2 separate regions of the Homo sapiens genome follow, and region 2 is linked to region 1. The links are contacts of gene promoters, found by promoter capture Hi-C in human tissues and cell types (Jung and others, 2019). All regions are on one chromosome and are shown on one strand. Each heading gives the region's core, a stretch centred on a gene start or on the middle of the fragment in contact. The rest is flanking DNA. Distances are from core to core; before and after follow the strand shown. Region 1 holds the start of MAP3K4 (mitogen-activated protein kinase kinase kinase 4). Region 2 has its middle 57 kb from the start of AGPAT4.

Region 1 (2,805 bases), core at 8-2,507:
TTCCTAGAACCATAGAGCAAGACCATAAGATGCCAAGAGGAGCTGCCGAGGTATTTTCATTACAGGGGACAGGGGGCAGCAGTTTGCAAGTTTACTCTGGGATGCAAAGGACAGGGAGTAAGAGGACATTTGAACATACAAACATAGGCACGTAAAAAGAGGGAAATTCTCAGTTATGGTGAGTTTGTTCTCTCAATTAAAAAAAAAATAAAGACATAAAAATAAGTTAATAGAGTATGGAAGAAAAAGCAACAAATGCTTTGGTTACCGAAGTTCCACCTTAGAGCTTCCTGCAGTAGCAAAGTTTTAGACAAATGAATCCTTACTTTTGTGCACGTGTGAGCAACAATCTGCACAATACTAGCACTAAAGGACAGTAAGGGGCCCTCAGAACAGGAAAGCAACGTATCTGTCTGCATAGTCTAAGTGCAATTTCTCACGGAAGAGATGACAGGCATTCTCTGGAGCGGGCAAAAGGAGAGGAGGAGGAGAACGCGGGGAAATAGCCAGTACGCACTCGATTTCCGAATGTCTCTTTTACTCGAATGAGGGCAGAGGGGAGGGACCACTTTCGTTCAGTAATGATGAGAGGCACTTCAGTGAGGCCACTCTTCCGAAGCTAGCGGCAGGGGAGGCAGCCGCACTCTGCTCCCAGCCCCCGCAACGTTGAGGGTGAGCTGGGGGAGTCTACAAGGGAAGGGGAGCCGGCAACACGCTCGAGCGGAACCCTGCGGAGCTGCAACCCCGGGAGGAGTCGCCGGACAGACTCAGACGCGGTCCCCTGGGACCCAGGGATGCACCGCGCCCCTCCCGCCCCAGCCTGCAGAGACTGGATGCTTCCCTCCCCACCTGGCGGGAAGCAGAGGCCCTCGGGCCCGACCGAGTTCGGGCCAGGACCCGCCCCGCTTTCTGCGAGCGACCGACTGCGGCCGCCACACTCACCTCGCCGCCAAGCAGCACTCGGGTTCTGACTCGGTCTCGGGTTCCGGTGGCGGTGGTGGCGGCGGCGGCGGTGGCGGCGGCTCCTCCATGGCGGCGGCAGGCGTGACGGCAAAGGCGGGAGGAGGGACCAGCGCGGCAGCGGCTTCTCTCATCCGTGCACGGAGCCCCGCATGGCCGCGGCGGGCAGTAAGCTGCAGCCTGGCGCGGGGCACCGGAGCCCCGAAGTGCGGGAGTGACTCGACTCCGCCTCCGCCTCTACCCCGCCGCAGGAGCCGTGCGCGCCGCGGCCATCTTGGAAACGGCGACCGGCCGAGCGCCGGGGCTACGGTGGGCGGCGAGGGACAAGCCTCCCAGATCGGCGGCGGTGGCGGCGGCGGCGGCGGGCGCCGGAATGCGACCGGACGGGGGCGGAGACGGCGGCAGGGAGGGGCGGGGAGCGCCGTCAAGTGTCGGCGCGATTCGGTCCTGGAGCCGGGTCTCGCCAGCTCGCCCGGTGTCGCCCCGGCCGGTGGCAGTGGGGGACTGTGGAGCGGAGCCGGGCTGTGCAGCGGGCTGGGAGCTCGAGGCTTCCCAGGCGGTCGTCGGTCTGGGAGGGACGCTGGGTAGGGCCGATGAGCGGGGCGGGCGCGACGCTATGAGCCCGGCCGGAGTCGCCGCCCAGGGACCTGCCACCCGGATCCCACCTTCCAGGAGGACGGACGTCACCCAGACGCTCGCAACTCCGGTCTCTTGACAGCGCAGCCTTCCACAGGCTCGAATTTTTAAGACTTGACATAAAGTCTCCGGAATTCCAGATTATTAAAGTGACCCCCTCATTTCAACCCGGCAAAACTTCTCACCCCAGTGTCATAAGATTCGATAGCGATCTCCCAGAAACTTGGACTGGAATGCTCCTACACTGAGGGGATGGGGGGAAGAAGAAATGCTAAAGATTATTTCAGAGTTACAGAAATCCTGTTGAAATTCCAATGCATCGTTTACTCTTAGCGCTGGGGCTTCACAGTTTTTTTTTAAGTTGGAAATATTTACAAAATTTCCCATAGGGTGAAATCCAGAGTTAATCCAAAACCAGAATCTTTTAAAATTAAGTACATTCAAATGTGCAGATTTCTTAAACCTCATTTAGTTGAGCTTTGATAGGTGAAACGCACGTTTTGAACAACTCTGGTAACAAAGAAAAACATTAAATTGATTATAGGTATGTTATATTTAAAGACCAGTTGTGAAATTAGCTATATTGTGCTCAAAGTATGTTACTGACATTTCTCCGTCGTTAAAAGGAACTGCTCCATTCTAGTTTTTTATAATAGTCTGTATTATGTATATAGCCTGATAGTGCTGAATTTCTGAATTGACCTTCATCTTATTTACTCAATAATATTCATTTGACAAATACTTATTAAGTGCATATATGTGTCAGGAACTGTACTAGATGCTGAGGATATAGCAGTAAGCGCAACAGACCAAGCTAACAGCTTAGTAAAGGGTGAGGTAAAACAAAACAAAAAAGTATTCAAAAAAATAAACTAATTTTTATCTTAATTTAAAAAATTACAAATTTTTAAAAATCACAAATTGGTATCCATGTATAATTCATTTCCGTGCATTTTCTTGTGTGAAGAAAGCTCAGTAAAAGTATTTCTTAGGTTTCTGTAATTCTAGTTCTCTACTCGATTTTCTTCTGCAATTTTCTGAGCCAGAACCCTTCTTAGAAGGCATATTAGAGACTTTAAAAGTTAAATAATAAAATAAATCTCTTCTTTAAACAGCATTGTACTACGTATTCTTTGGTATGACTACCGAATTTAAGCTAGCTGATAATGCAGACACGTGTGTCCAAGTCACAAAACACTTAGCAAATAT
Region 2 (2,854 bases), core at 157-2,656, 340 kb before region 1:
CAGCGTGGTAACATGAGCATAAACTCCGTCTCAAAAAAAAAAAAAAAATACTTGACCAGTAAATTTAAACCATAATGTATATTGACAATTTTGAAGCCATTTCCAATTCTATTTCACCAATATTTTAAAAATCAGCTTATCTATTAAAGATTGACTCAAGTCACATGAACTTGAAAAAGCCTTTGTTAAAGTCTCCATTTCTTCTGATAAGGTATTCGATATAAGTGCTTTTTTTTCTTCTTTAAGCCAGTTGATTAGAGCTCTTTTATGTCTTTTTAGTAGTGAAATCTCATATACACGACACATAAATACATAGACGTATTAGACATGCAGATAAAAGTAGATCTTATACATTCATAAGCCCTCTTATTTTTTCCTCCTATTTTAGATTTCCAATTTCTTGATAACCTGTGTTAGAAATGTTTGTTCTTCGGTGCTATAAAGAAATAGCACTTGAACATAAATTTAATTTCTTCAGCAAGGCCATTTTTTTTACTTTGTGCAGAAAGGGTACACTCGCCAGCAGTTTTGCCACAAGAGTACACCGAACAAAGGAGACAGGGTCATTTATAACCTGACATGTCCACCTTACTGCTGTGCCTGGTTTCCATCAGCTGGAACGGGACCTCACATTCTGTATTTGTCCTGATTGGCTAGCAACTTACAACTTTTTAAAAGAGGCAAAGGCAGAGGAGAACAAAGGAAGGAGGAAGTAACTTGTGGAATGCTGAGAAAGGTAAAAACACCTTCAAATATGGAAGAGGAACAGGCTATGACTTAATGCTTGCTTGGACCAGTATAAGCGTGCCAGGGCAAATACTTAGGCTAAATTGTGGGAGCTAAGAACATAAAGTACATTGATTTCCTTATTACGGCTAACAGATACTTAAGAATGTTAGCACAGGCCTTTGAATAAATTTTGCTTCTAAGAGAAGTTACTATTTATTCTTAATTAGATGGGGAGGAAAGCCTTTGAAGAGGAACCTCTACTTTACTTTTTACACCTGTTTTATTATCCTAGCCAGTTGTCAGCCAGGTAGCCCTAAGTTTGCATATTAAGGAAACAGCTCCTGGGGGAAAAATCAGATATCAAAGTTTACATCTCAAAGTACAGAGGGAAAGAGTCTGATGTGCTAGAGGGAGATTAAGAACGGATGCCAAATCAAACATGAAACTATAGAAATCTATCATAGGATTGTATAAGGAGACCAATTTTATTTAGATAGGTAGTTCTAAATTTAGTCTCTAGCTTTTAACTGGATCTCTGAGCTCTGGGCAGAGCCCACACTGAATCCTGTGTCTCCCAAAACATATAATTTTTTGAGACTAGAACACATGATGCTTTTACAGTGTACCTATTTTTTAATAAAGACATTTCTCTAAGTGTCTAAACTACACTCTTCCTTAAGTAAAACACCCAAGAGTAGACTCTGCTGAAGTAACTATTTTAGTCAGAAAAAAAAAAAAAAAACATCAGGTAACACAATACAAAAGCAAGGAATTTAAGATATAGGATGAACTTGTCTGTTTACACTTTTAGGGTTCCAAAATAAAAAACAGAGGTTTCACCCCAAAGGGGAGTCTGACACCTTCTCTGCTTTCTTTAAGGAATCACAGGCTGTTAGAAAATGTTTTAGGTCTCTCATGTAGCAACGTGTCAAGAGCAAGGAGAGGCAGCAAAAGTTAACGTAGAAAACAGATTTCGGTCAACTGAGAAGAAAGAAAGAAAAAAAACTTTTCTTATAAAAACAAGGTTCTACGAGAGGAAAAAAAGATCTTTTAAATAAACACACACACACACACACACACACACACACACACACACACACACACACACACACACACACTGGATATTAGCTTTTAATTAAGCTGACTTTTAACCACTGAGCTCCTTAGAACAAATTTTTAAAATCTTATTACCATATTTTAGCTGGGCCAAATTGCTGATATTTCAAAAGTAGCACAAATATCAAACCGAAAAGGACTTGATTTAGGAACCAAACCCAGGCTGTAGTAGTGGAAAAAAAGGGCAGAACTAAGCTATTGAACTGCAGTGGGGCAACAGCCATTGCTCTCTTTCAGTGTGGCTTGGCTAGCAAAAACGTGGCCTTGTTATGGAAATAAAGCCCCTAGGGCAGTCAAAATCAAAAATCGTTCCCTTTTTTTCCCTTTTGCTGGCCATTTTTTTCTTTTTCCTTTTTTTTTTCCAGCTGCAGGAATGTAGCCAATTCAGAGGACTTGTTCCCCATAATTTGAAACTTTTCTTTGGATTTGATCAAGTTGGATGGAGTTGGTCAAACCCAATGGGAAAAAGACCAAAACAACAACAAAACAGAAACAAATAAACAACAACAACAAAAGAGTTAAGCAAAACAAACAATTGCACAATTTATACGATTACTGAGCGCTCTAATGGTAAGGCGTAATTAATACTAGCTGGTTGTGAATCTTGACTTTAGTGATTAAGAAGAATTTCCAAGACAAAAAAAAAAAGAACAATTCAGCTACTTACCTAGGAATGGGTCCCAGGTTGAAGACTGCTCTCTACCATCCTAGAAACAGGAGAAAAACTCAAACTTGCCTTGCCTGTTGGAAGTGAGCTGCAAGTCCAGAAAAGAGTTGCCTGCCTTCCATCATCATGAAGCAGGAAAACTTGCCTTCATTGTTGGAAGCAAGCAAAACTCCACAAAAGTACTTGCATAGCAAAAAAAAACTTCAGAACTTGACCAAATTTTGAGAGAACAGTGATACCCTGGAGGGAGGGGGTGCCTAGGCCTCAGCAAATTTTCCTGTTGGTTTGAGCCATAGGGATAGCTCAAGCTGGTACCAAGCAACAACAGATTTGTCAAAGGTC

Evidence for each region. Contacts are between HindIII fragments. The study calls those that stand out against the background at their distance.
Region 2: a fragment that was not itself captured here is called in contact with the fragment with the promoter of MAP3K4 in region 1 in 1 of the 25 tissues and cell types used here (dorsolateral prefrontal cortex).

Annotation. Positions count from the first base shown.
Region 1 is chr6:160,990,221-160,993,025 of GRCh38, reverse strand. It overlaps MAP3K4 (mitogen-activated protein kinase kinase kinase 4), which reads right to left and starts at 1,257. Exons shown (of 27, transcript NM_005922.4): 1 at 943-1,257. The coding sequence starts at 1,094. MAP3K4-AS1 (MAP3K4 antisense RNA 1) reads left to right here and starts at 684. Exons shown (of 1, transcript NR_174962.1): 1 at 684-2,708. RefSeq lists silencers at 452-581, 495-789, 1,252-1,581 and enhancers at 850-1,719, 1,672-1,741, 1,762-1,821. The HindIII fragment of the contact is 15,236 bases long and covers 1-2,805 here.
Region 2 is chr6:161,329,845-161,332,698 of GRCh38, reverse strand. No RefSeq gene overlaps it. Among named protein-coding and RNA genes, the nearest start is that of AGPAT4, 57 kb to the right of the region's middle. The HindIII fragment of the contact is 7,948 bases long and covers 1-2,854 here.